Regions from separate parts of the Homo sapiens genome. Here region 1 is linked to region 2. The links are contacts of gene promoters, found by promoter capture Hi-C in human tissues and cell types (Jung and others, 2019). All regions are on one chromosome and are shown on one strand. The core of a region is centred on a gene start or on the middle of the fragment in contact, and the rest is flanking DNA. Distances in the headings are between cores, read along the strand shown.

Evidence for each region. The method cuts DNA at HindIII sites, captures the fragments that hold promoters and counts their contacts. A contact is called where the count stands out against the background at its distance.
Region 1: a contact is called between a fragment that was not itself captured here and the fragment with the promoter of AGXT in region 2, in 4 of the 25 tissues and cell types used here (IMR-90 fibroblasts, adrenal gland, aorta and 1 more).

The regions. Positions count from the first base shown.
Region 1 is chr2:240,941,115-240,947,203 of GRCh38, reverse strand. It overlaps CROCC2 (ciliary rootlet coiled-coil, rootletin family member 2), which reads right to left. Exons shown (of 32, transcript NM_001351305.2): 15 at 951-1,144. Among named protein-coding and RNA genes, the nearest start is that of UICLM, 23 kb to the left of the region's middle. The HindIII fragment of the contact is 4,549 bases long and covers 1-4,158 here.
Region 2 is chr2:240,864,349-240,870,100 of GRCh38, reverse strand. AGXT (alanine--glyoxylate aminotransferase) reads right to left here and starts at 1,277. Exons shown (of 11, transcript NM_000030.3): 1 at 1,071-1,277; 2 at 739-931. The coding sequence starts at 1,235. RefSeq lists an enhancer at 1,258-1,758. The HindIII fragment of the contact is 24,692 bases long and covers 1-5,752 here.

The DNA of each region.
Region 1 (6,089 bases), core at 635-3,134, 76 kb before region 2:
GAGGTTTGTCTGTGAAGCTCGAGGATCCCAGACTCCAAGGTTTCTCATGCCTCCCAGATTCTAGAATTCCAGGAGGAAATCTTTTCAACAAAAATGCTTAGCAGTGCCTGAGCAGGGCCCTAAGCAGGGCCTATAAGGCACAGAAGCCATCAGCTGTTGGGTTTCTGCAGAGGCTGCAGGACCCATTCAGATCACCAGGCAACAGCCTACACACATCCTGTTCTTGCCTGCGAGTGCCCGTCCCAACTTCTGGGAGTTGCCCTGAGGGCCTTTGGGCTCACCCGCCCACACTCTCCACCTCATGTGTCCCTGGGCTGACCCTGCTTCTGGCTCCAGGGATGGGTGTGCAGCCCAAGCCTGGGATCAGGCCCTGTGACTCCCAGCTCCTAGGATTGGTACAGGGATGTCACACAGCTCAAGACGGCCCATGGCAGCCGCTCTCAGGCCTTGCAGGGAGAAGGGTGCTCTGCATCTGCTGGAAGGGGGACCCTGGGGTGGCTGCTGGCCATCTTGCCACCTCTCAGAGTAAGCCTGCCTGGGAAAAAGATCTCAGAGTCAAGCTGTGCTGAGGGAGAGAGAAGCAGGATTCTGAGGGCACTGTGGGAGTGCCTGAATCCAGCCATACCTGAAGTTGGATTCACCCTGAACTCCTCAGCTCCATGAGCAAGACATTCCACATCTGCCTTCCCCTGGTCTGAGCTGTGTTTCTGCACTTGCCACCACCTCTTTCAGGAGGGTGACCCCAGCGCTTTCACTGGGTTGACCTCTTCCAGATGCCCTCCCCCAACCCAAAGGCTCTGTGCTCGCCTCCACTCACAGCCCATTTCATGGGCACACGCTCCCTCCCAGTCCTATGTCATGGTGCGATTGTCCCCATACCCTGCCACACTGCAGACTCTCTGTGGGCAAGGACACGTGGGACATGCCCTGACTGGCAGGCCCTTGCATACCTGAGATCAGCTGCCTCTTCAGCTGCGAGCCGGCCCTGCCTCTCCAAGGCCTCCTGCTTGGCCAGCAGCTGGGCCCGCTCCTCAGACAGAGCATCCTTTCCTTGCAGGGCTTGCTGCAGAGTGCCCATCTGGGCCTCCTGGTCCTGCAGGCTCTGAGCCAGCTGCTCCTCCAGGGCCTGTTTCTGGCATGTGACCTAGGGGAGGTGGGGAGGGGACAGTCGGCAGAGAAAGAGAGTAAGTGGGTGGGTGAGCATGGGCCTCTTGAGGGGAAGAAAGGACTTCAGAAGAAGTGATTTTATGCAGAATGGCATGGAGGTGAAAGTGGAAGAAGTGGGTGGATCTCAGAAACACATGTATGTTTTTACAATAGAGGGGGCATCCACTCAGGTACCCTGAGTGGATGGAGATGGTATTGAACTGGGCACTCCTAGGTAGGAGCCAACTGTCAATCTAAATGGTACCATTTGTTGGTCCTCCAGTGTCCAGGGGTCAGGAAATGCTGCATAGAAATGGCAATAGAAGGTAACAGAAAACTAGATTGCTGCAGACCAACACTTCCACCAAGAACATCATAAAAATCTAGAAAGAATATATCATAAGAATATGCAAGACACCTCAGACAGCTGAACAGACAGCTGGGACCGAAGGAGTGAAGATCTTGGAGAGAAGGGAGGTACAGAGGAATGAGCCCAGCATTTAATGTCTCCTCTTCCTCAAGGCATTTGCTCATTTAAGAGTTTGGGCTGAAAAATTGAGATGCCAAGAAGAACTTCTGGCAGTACCATGGCCTGAGGGGGACAAAAGTTAGGGTTCAGAGCCACCAAAACAGAGAGGCTCTGATAAATATCACAAGACATCAAGTTGTATTCACAGCAGGGCTTGACCCTAGTACTAGCGGTGAATCAGAAATAGACCATCCTTCATAGACACCGAAGCTCACGTGCGAATCATCCCAGTCACGGATTGGATTACAGTGACCTTCTACGTTCACTGCCTGCCAGGGTCAAAAGTAAATTCTGGCCAGCTGAGGCGGCTCACGCCTATAATCCCAGCACTTTGGGAAGCCAAGGCAGGCAGATCACTTGAGGTCAGGAGTTCAAGACCAGCCTGGCAACATGGTGAAACCCCGTCTCTACTAAAAATACAAAAATTAGCCAGGCACGATGGCACACACCTGTAATCCCAGCTATTCAGGAGGCCGAGGCAGGAGAATCGCTTGAACCCAGGAGGCAGAGGTTATGGTGAGCCAAGATCATGCCACTGCACTCCAGCCTGGGTGACAGAGTGAGACCCTCTCTCAAAAACAAACAAACAAACAACAACAAGAACAAAAATAAATGCTTTCTGGAAGAAGAATCGCATCATCAAGATCCTCAAATTATTTCTATAATTTATTATATATAAGATTGACTAATCAAGATCTGGCCTATCAGGAGACAGGACCACATGACAAAAAAACCACTAATAAGAACAGAAAATAGATATAGATCCTCCTACCCTGGTTATCTAGATATTGGAGTTATCAGACACAAACTTTAAAATAGCTGATTCACGTGTTCAAGAAGATGGATAGCAAGACGTAAAGTTTAACAATAGAACTGGATACTAAATATAAAAAAGACAATTTAAAATATAATAACCAAAAGTAAAAAAAAAATTAATAGACAATGGCAGATTAGACAGAATAAAAGAAAGGACTAATAACCTGGAAGAGAGACAAAGAATGTGTTCAGACTGAATCATAAAGAGATAGAAGGATGGATAGAAAATACACAAAAGAATGTTATAGACATATAGGACAAGCTAAAAATGCCCATCATATGTGTAATTACAGCCTCAAAAGGAGATGAGAGGGCACATTTGAACAGATACAGGCCAAGAATGTTCCAAATCTAATAAAATACATCTAGCCACAGACTTAAAATGAGCTGTAACCCCCAAAAGGATAAATTAAAAGAAAATGTCACATATATACAACTTAGTAAAGTTTCTGAATACCAAAGATAAAGAAAAATGTTTTTTAAAAAACAAAGGGAAAAAGACACATAGGCGTGAAATGAACAAGACTGACATTTGCTTTCTATGCAACAATGAAGGCCAGAAGATGATGGAATGACTTCATTAAATTTCTGAAAGAAAATAATGGCTATTTTAGTATTCTATACCCAGCGAAAACATTCTTCAAAAGTAAAAACCAGGACTTTCTGCTTCTGATAATGGTGAGGTGGGTTGTTGAAAACCAACCCTCCCATCTAAAGCAACTAGAAAAGCAATACAACGTACAATCCAATAATCTGTTTAAAAGCATTAGAGAGATACTAACGCAGTCAGGTCCCAGGTGTTCAGGCTACAGAGAGAAATATATTAAAGTGAGTCTGAAATTCTATGAATACAACAGATTTCCCCTTTGAGGTATCTGCCAAGTCCTAAGTGACAGGGGGTGTAGAGCCTCAGTATCCAAGAATAAAGCTTTAGGCCGGGCTTGGTGGCTAATGCCTGTAATCCCAGCACTTAGGGAGGCCGAGGTGGGCAGATCACCTGAGCTCGGGAGTTCGAGACCAACCTGGCCAACATGGCGAAACCCCATCTCTACTAAAAATACAAAAATTAGCCGGGCATATGCCTGTAATCCCAGCTACTCAGGAGGCTGAGGCAGGAGAATTGCTTGAACCCAGGAGGCGGAGGTTGCAGTGAGCCGAGATCACCCCATTGCACTCCATCCTGGGCGACAGAGCAAGACTCTGCTTAAAAATTAAAAAAAAAAAAAAAAAGCTTTAGCTAAAAGACTGGGAACATGGCCTAAGATTTCAGCAGGCTTATGAGATTGAAGAGATATAACTTAGAGTTCAGATATACCAAAGCAGCCGGGGAACGAAAAGAAGAGCGGATATCAGAGAGCAAGGAAATGCCTTGAGGTAAGCCTGAGATTGTATATTGCGATTTTAAAAAATGGTACTGCTGGCTGAGCGCAAAATCCCAGCACTTTGGGAGGCTGAGGCAGGTGGATCACTTGAACCCAGGAGTTTGAGACCAGCCTGGGCAACATGGCAAAACCCCATTTCTACAAAAAACACAAAAATTAGCTGGGCGTGGTCATGTGTGCCTGTAGTCCCAGCTACTCGGGAGGCTGATGTGGGAGGATCACTTGAGCCCAGAAGGTCGAGGCTGCAGTGAACCATGGTCATGCCACTGCACTCCAGCCTGGGCAACAAAGACCCTGTCTCAGAAAATAAAATAAATGGTACTGCTTTGAAAAAGTATGTATTTTTTATAATTCAGAAGTAGTAAAGGACCAGGAGACTACGAATCTGAACAAAAAAATAGCAGCTGACAGTCTGAGAAGTCAGATAGTACTTTTGAAAGTCCTATCTGAAATAAAGATAATAAAAAAAAGACAATAAATAAAAAGAAAATAAAACCTGGAGTTTAGGGCTAACTAAAGAGTAGGAACCCTGGTAAACACCTGAGATTTCCCATTAGGAACATAGGAGAGTTATATTATACCCTGGGATAAGCCAGAAATAGACGACTCCTCACAAAAGACTGAAGTACAGTTACAAAGCAGCTAAATCCTGGACTGGATAAAGGCAATTTATCCCTATTCTGATTTCCCAAAGTCAAAAGCAAATTCCCTCTAGAAGAAGCTTATATCATTCAAAGCCTTAAATTATCTCTATGAATTATATCTACAAAAACACAAAGTCTGTCATTCAATCAAAAATTATTAAGCATAATAAAAAAACAAACAATATTAAGCATACTAGGAGACAAGGCCAAACTACTGAAAATAAATAAATAAAAGACAATAGAAATAGCTCATTAGGGGATCCAGATGTTAGAGTTATCAGACAAAGACCCAAAAAGTATTGTAATTAATATGTTTAAAAACATACTCAAGAAGGAAAAGAATGTTACCAAATAACTGAAATGTTTGTGAAAAGATGATTGAGTGTGTGTGTGTGAATGGTTAAAAATAATCATTTAAAAGTAAAAAGTATTAATAAAGTAATGTACGGTTTATAACAACACACACAGAAATAAAATATAGAACAACAAGAGCAAAAAGTATGGAAGAGATGTCTTAGTAAATTTGTGCTGCTATAACAAAGTACCTGAGACTGGGTAATTTATAAAGAACAGAAATTTATTAATTTATCTTCTCACAGTTCTAGAGACTGGGAAGTCCAAAATCAAGGTGCTGGCAGGTTCAGCTGTCTATCAAGGACTACTCTCTGCTTCCAAGGCTGTGCCTTGATGCTGCATTTTCCGGATGAGAAGAATGCTGCACCTTCACATGGTGGAAGGCATAAGGGAAAGTGAGACACAAATGATGCTGCAAGCCCCTTTCATAAAGGCTTTAATCTCGCTGATGAGGGTGGAACCCTTATGGCCTAAATCACCTCTTAAAGGTCCCATCTCTTAATACTATCACAATTAGTAAGTTTCAACACCTACATTTTGGAGGGGACACATTCGAAACATAGCAAGGGATGAATGGAATGTATTGCTGGAAGGGTCTTACATTGTTTGTGAAGTAATATAATATTTGGATATAGACTGTGCATATCATAATTTTAGGGTAATCACTAAAACTAACAAAAAGAAACACAGTTTCATTCTTCTACATGTGGCTTGACAATTATCCCAGCACCATTTCTTGAATAGAGTGTCCTTTCTTTACTTTATGTTTTTGATTGTTTTGTCGAACATCAGTTGACTGTAAGTATTTGGGTTTATTTCTGGGTTCTCTATTCTGTTTCATTGGTCTATGTGCCTATTTTTATACCAGTACCATGCTGTTTTGGTAACTGTTACCTTATAGTATAGTTTGAAGTTGGGTAATGTGATGCCTCCAGATTTGCTTTTTGCATGTTCTTGCTTTGGCTCTGTGGCTTCTTTTTTGGTTCCATATGAAATTTAGGATTTTTTTCTAGTTCTGTGAAGAATGGTGATGATATTTTGATGGGAATTGCATTGAATTTGTGTATTGATTTTGGCAGTATGGCCATTTCCACAATATTGATTCTACTCGTCCATGAGCATAGGATGTGTTTCCATTTGTTTGTGTCGTCTATGATTTCTTTCAGCAGTGTTTTGTAGTTTTCCTTGTAGAAGTCTTTCACATCCTTGGTTAGGCAT
Region 2 (5,752 bases), core at 28-2,527:
CAAGGGGACAGAATGGGGAAAAGGGAAGCCATATACCACAGGCATCTGAGCCTGCGTGCCCTGATGTCCACTTGGGGTCCTGGCCTCTGCCGACCCTGGGTCCCCTTGAAAAGTTTGTGGACTTGGGGTTGGGACCCTCTTGGCTGTTGCGGTCGCGTATTAACCAGCATGGCCATTGTGGAGCTCACCAAGCTGATGTCCCTCAATGCCACAATCAATCATTAAACCCAGGGCACACTCCTGCTCCTGTGTCTCTCCCAGAAAAGTGTACTCCGGAGGCGAATACTCTGCCCATACCTCCATATTTTGTGTATCACATCAAGATTCCAGAAGGAAGGCTGCTGAGATTTGAGGGGAGGCTTCAGCTTCTGAAACCCCACCCTGTCACAAAGCAGAGCTGGTGCCTGGGGCCCTGGACAGCGGCCGGGGCTCTCAGGAGTGTGTGCTGGGACCAGAGGCTTCCCTGTAGTTCCGTCCTGCACATGCTCCAGAAACAGCTCAAGGAGACTGGGGGGATCGGGGCACCTGTGCTGCTCCCAGCCCTATCAGAGTCAGGCCTCATGAGTGCCCGACACCGCCTGGAGGAGGCAGTGGGCTGGCAGGAGGTTCGTGCGCACAGGGCCACAAGGTGGGTAAGCGCTCACCCAGGAACGGGGGCTGCCAGCTTCAAACAGAGGGAGGCCAGGGAGGCCTTGAAGGATGGATCCAGGGCCATCCCCACCTGGGCCTCTCCCTTACCTATGCGCTCCCCGATGTCCACGGCTCGCTGCCCCCAAATGCCATTGGCCCCAACCAGGAAGGAGTCCCCAGGCTCCAGCACATTGACCAGGGCGGCCTCCAGGGCACAGTGTCCCGAGCCAGAGATGACCAGTGTGAGTGGGTTCCTGGTCTGGAACACGTACTGGATGCCTTCCTTGATCTCGTCCATGATCTGCATGCGGGTGGTATAGGGTGAGACCCAGGCTCCCCGCCTCCCCAAGTGAGGAGGCAGTGACCCCCTTCCCTCGTCCACGATCTGTGGGTGGGAACATGGGTGAGACCCAGGCCCCCCGAGTGACCCCCACTCCTACCTGGTACATATCCTTGCTCATGGACCCGATCATCTGCAGCCCCCCGGCTGCCATGATGCGAGGAGGCAGGTTGGAAGGACCAGGCCCCAGCAGGAGCTGGTTGGGGATGGAGAGGGGCTTGAGCAGGGCCTTGGGGGGGGTCACCAGCAGCTTGTGAGAGGCCATGGTCCGCACCCAACCTGCCGCTCGGGAACCTGGGGCTGCACTGGCCTTGGCCAAAGCCTGGAATATTTCCCAGCAGGGCGGACACAGAGGTGAGAGGTGAGGATTGGTGGATGGGCTTCCGTGGCAGCCCTGCCTTTTGTTCCCTGAGGCTTATCTGTGCTTGTGCTGCGGGTCACGGCCAGGCAGCAGGGGACGAAGCCCTCAGGCAGAGGGAGCCCCCAGGGCTGAGTGACAGAAAAACAGAGTGTGACAAAGCTGTCCTCACCCCAGCCCTCCTCGCTCCCACTCTGAGTCCTGCACGTCCAGCCCCTCTTATTCTGCTTAGCTCAGGGGTGAGAGAAGTGTTTCTTAAAGGGTCGGAGCACAGATAATTGAGGCTTGGCAGGCCCTGTGGTCTATGTTGCAACAACTCAACCCTGCTGCGTGCTTGCAAAGCAGCTGCCAGAGGTGTGGGCGTGTTCCTATAAAACTTTATTTACAAAAAGCAGGTGGCAGGCCAGATTGGGCCCATGGACTGTGGTTTGCTGACCCTGGCGCAGCTGATGGGAAGGCTTGTAAACCAAAAATAAAATTCGAAGGCCCCCCAGCAACCATCTGAATGGGGTTCCCTGTCCGCCAGGGTGCTCTAAACTTTAACCCGGAAGACGTTCAGGCCATGCCACATCATAACCCCCAGCATTAACATCGACATAGACCTTAAGTCTGATAGGAAGCATTTACCATCTATTTTCTCTCTAAATCCCGCTACCTGAAGGCATCATCTGCTCCCTGCAACCCCTATTTCATAACCCAGACACTCCTTTCTGCTGATAATAATTCTTCAGTCAGTTGCCAATCAAAATATGTTTAAATCTACCTATGACCTGGAAGCCCCCCAATTCAAGTTGTCCCGCCCTTCCAGATGGAACCAATGTAAATCTCCCATGTATTGATTGATGCCTCATATCTCCCTAAAATGTATAAAAGCAAGCTGTGCCCCGACCACCTTGGGCCCTTGTGGTCAGGGGTGCACCCTTGAGCTTGGCAAGGATGTCCTCCCTCCTGAGGCTGTACCACGGGTGCATCCTTAGCCTTGGCAACAAAAACTTTCTAAATTAATTGAGACCTGTTTGAGGTACTTTTTGGTTTACAGGCTCAATTTAGCAAGCAAACCTGCATGGTATACAGACACACACAAGGCAGGGGTTGCACAGTGAGTTTCAGCATGCTGCATTCCAGAGATGTATAGAAATTCTAGTTATGTATAAGTTTTAGGTTGAAAAGAGGCCTGGAACCAGGTGCCAACTTTAGATAATAGGGAAGTCTAATTCATTCTACATTTCTCAAATAAAGAGGCTCCCCTCCACCCACCCCACCTGGGGCCTGCTTGATGGTCTCCAGGTGATCTTTGCTGTCCTCATTTTCCCTCTGACAAATATCTTGGTGAAATCTTTGACCCTTCCTTTTCTGCCATGCTCATGTCCACCTGCTTCCTGTTGGGGTCTCAAGAAAGGGGAAACGGCACAGTGAAGAGGGGTGTCCAGTGCGCCTGACTACTTGCTGCTGAAAGGGAGTTCAGGGGGGTAGGTCACGTTTTTCCCTTTCTTGCTCTCGGTCATGAAGGGAATAAAGGGTCATGAAAACTTGTGCACGGAGGCACGTGATGGGATTCCATCAAGAAGCCCCACGTAAATGGGAGCTGCAGTTGCAGGCCGGTATTTCCATCAAGAAGCCCCATGTAAATCGAGCTGCAGTTGCAGGCCAGTGTTGGGAATGCATAGCCTTCTGCAGGTGGAATTGTTCTCATGTAGAACATAGAAAAGCAATCAGAGCATTAAAAAGGCAGGGACCAAATATTAAAAGAAAAATGACAGAAGATAAAGGTCTAAGGAATGGGGGAAGCCAAGTGATTTTTTGAAAACCAATCAGTAAAAGTTTTGGCCCAGTCTTGGTTGCTTTGGGAAAGTGTGTGTAGCCATTTGGCTTGTTTGATGATTTCTTGGGCATCGGTTTCCACTTCTCCAGACACATAAATGTAGGTGCAACGGGTCCTGTTGATGACAGCACAGACCCCTCCTTGTTCAGCTAGGAGGTAATCCAGAACTCACCTGTTACCAGACACCAAAATCCTGCTTGTGAGTCTAATGACTTGTAGAGCTGATAGATGGGTGCCAGCTTTTGCTATTTCAAGGGAGGCGGTAGGTTCTCTTACTTGTGATTTCCTGGTAAGTAAAACCTCCCCAAGGGGTAAGAGTTGTGATAGTTCCCACAACTCCGGCCACAGTAAGTCCCAGGGCCCTTTTCCTTCTAGAAGGGAATTCTGAATTAGAAGTGATGTTTAAGACAGTGATTTGGGTGGGAGCTATTGTTCCCAGGCTACAATCACCATAGTGAAGAGAATGATCAAGGTGGGATAGGGCCAAAGCTTGAAAAGGGTTTAAATAGTTTTTAGTGGGGCTGCTAAGCCATAAGAGCCCAGGAGGGGCAGGATGATTATTTTAATTAAAATGTTGGGAAAAAAGGAAATGGGCCTTTTGACAGTTTTAAGAGGACTCATATGGGGGAAAGACTATGTTTATGTACTGATGGAGGAGGTTTAAAAGCAGGCGGGTGCCAGTGCATGGCATAGGATGTAAACCAGGTGGCACGGTGGTTATTTCCTGCACTGGTTGCATCATTATAGTAACATACATGAAGGTATTAGGAGTGCAGGGGTGCTGTATACTGGGAGCCCCACTATACTGGTCCAGTTTAACGGCTTATAAATTGGCAGTGATGAGATAGAGTCAGATTTTTTTTTTTTTTTTTTTTGAGATGGAGTCTCACTCAGTTGCCCAGGCTGGAGTGAAGTGGTGTGACCTTGGCTCACTGCAACCTCTGCTCCTGGGTTCAAGCGATTCTCCTGCCTCAGCCTCCTGAGTAGCTGGGATTACAGGCACCTGCCACCACGCCCTGCTAATTTTTGTATTTTTAGTAGAGACAGGGTTTCACCATGTTGGTCAGACTGGTCTCGAACTCCTGACCTCAGGTGATCCACCCACCTCTACCTCCCAAAGTGTTAGGATTACAGGTGTGAGCCAGCGCACCTGGCCAGAGTCAGAGTTTTGATTGTAGGAGGCGAAGGCCTCAAATGAGTCAAAGTTAGCTGCATGAGTGTCATTATAACAAGGTGTACCTCCCAAAATAACATTACAAGTTAAGGAAGTTTCAGTGATATTGTAAGTGTGGATGGTGGGGGAAGTAATATGATAGCACGAAGAGGGAGGTGGTTTCCAATTTACCAGCACAGAAGGAAATGGTCGGGGTGGGAAGGAGTGGTGAGAAGAATAATGAAATCCCAACAGTACAGTTTGATTGGAGACAGGGTGTGCTTACGAAGAAGAATCTACATGGCTTGGAGTAGCAGGTTGTGGACGGCAAAGCCAGCCACACAGAGTATTTTCTCCTCTCACAATAGCATGTGAGATGCTGAAGATGATATTGTCAAACCAAGAGGATTGGGAAGTTTTTATATGAGAGATAAAGAGAAAAACATGAAAGAAAGAAAAAAGGAGTCTCATTGTTCTAATTCAAGGACTGTTACAAAAGTTGCTCCAAGTATAATTAGAAAAACCACCCTGCAAATAAAAATCTAGTGCAAGCTGAATAATTGTATGTGGGTCTTGAGAAATGGGGATTGGATAAAGAGACAGTAAATTGGCTGGGTGTGGTGGCTCATGCCTGTAATTCCAGCACTTTGGGAGGCTGAGACGGGCGGATCACCTGAGGTCAGAAGTGTGAGAACAGCCTGGCCAACATGGTGAAACCCTGTCTCTACTAAAAATACAAAAAAAAAAAAAAAAAAAAAAAAATAGCCGGGCATGGTGGTGCATGCCTGTAATCCCAGCTACTCAGGAGGTTGAGGCGGGAGAATCACTTGAACCCGGGAGATGGCGGTTGCAGTGAGCCGAGATCGCACCATTGCACTATAGCCTGGGTGACAAGAGCAAAACTCTGTCTCAAAAAAAAAAAAAAAAAAAAAGTAAGTGAATTGAGGATAATCTCAGAAAATTGGAGGACCTAAAAACGCTTCTAGAGTACATAAGGAAATGAATGACAAGGGAGGGAAAGGAAAGTGAATGATAAACACAGCAAAAGGCTTACGTGGTATCCTTTGCTTTTGAAGAGAGGTTAGTGTCACCTGGTTGTTTGCAAAACAAAAATCATAGATCTTCCAAGGGCTCAAAGTGTAAGCAGGCTGGAGTTCTGGCGGCAGTACAGACTTTATGTGGCAAAGGTGGACCCAAGGGGAGAATCCCTGCAGTTAACAGCTGTGGGAGAGGCTATGAGGACTTGAAAGGGTCCAGTCCAGAGGGCTGGAAGGGGTTTTCTGTCTGGAGGCAAAGTTTTTAAATATACCCAGTCCCCAGGTTAACAGGAGGTCTTAGTTCTGATGAGGAGGGGTCAGATTTTGGACAAAATTTATCCTGGTATTCAGTAGTGGCCTGGATAGTTTGCCCAGGGAGGCATCACATTGAGACAGATAATGAGCCTCTGGA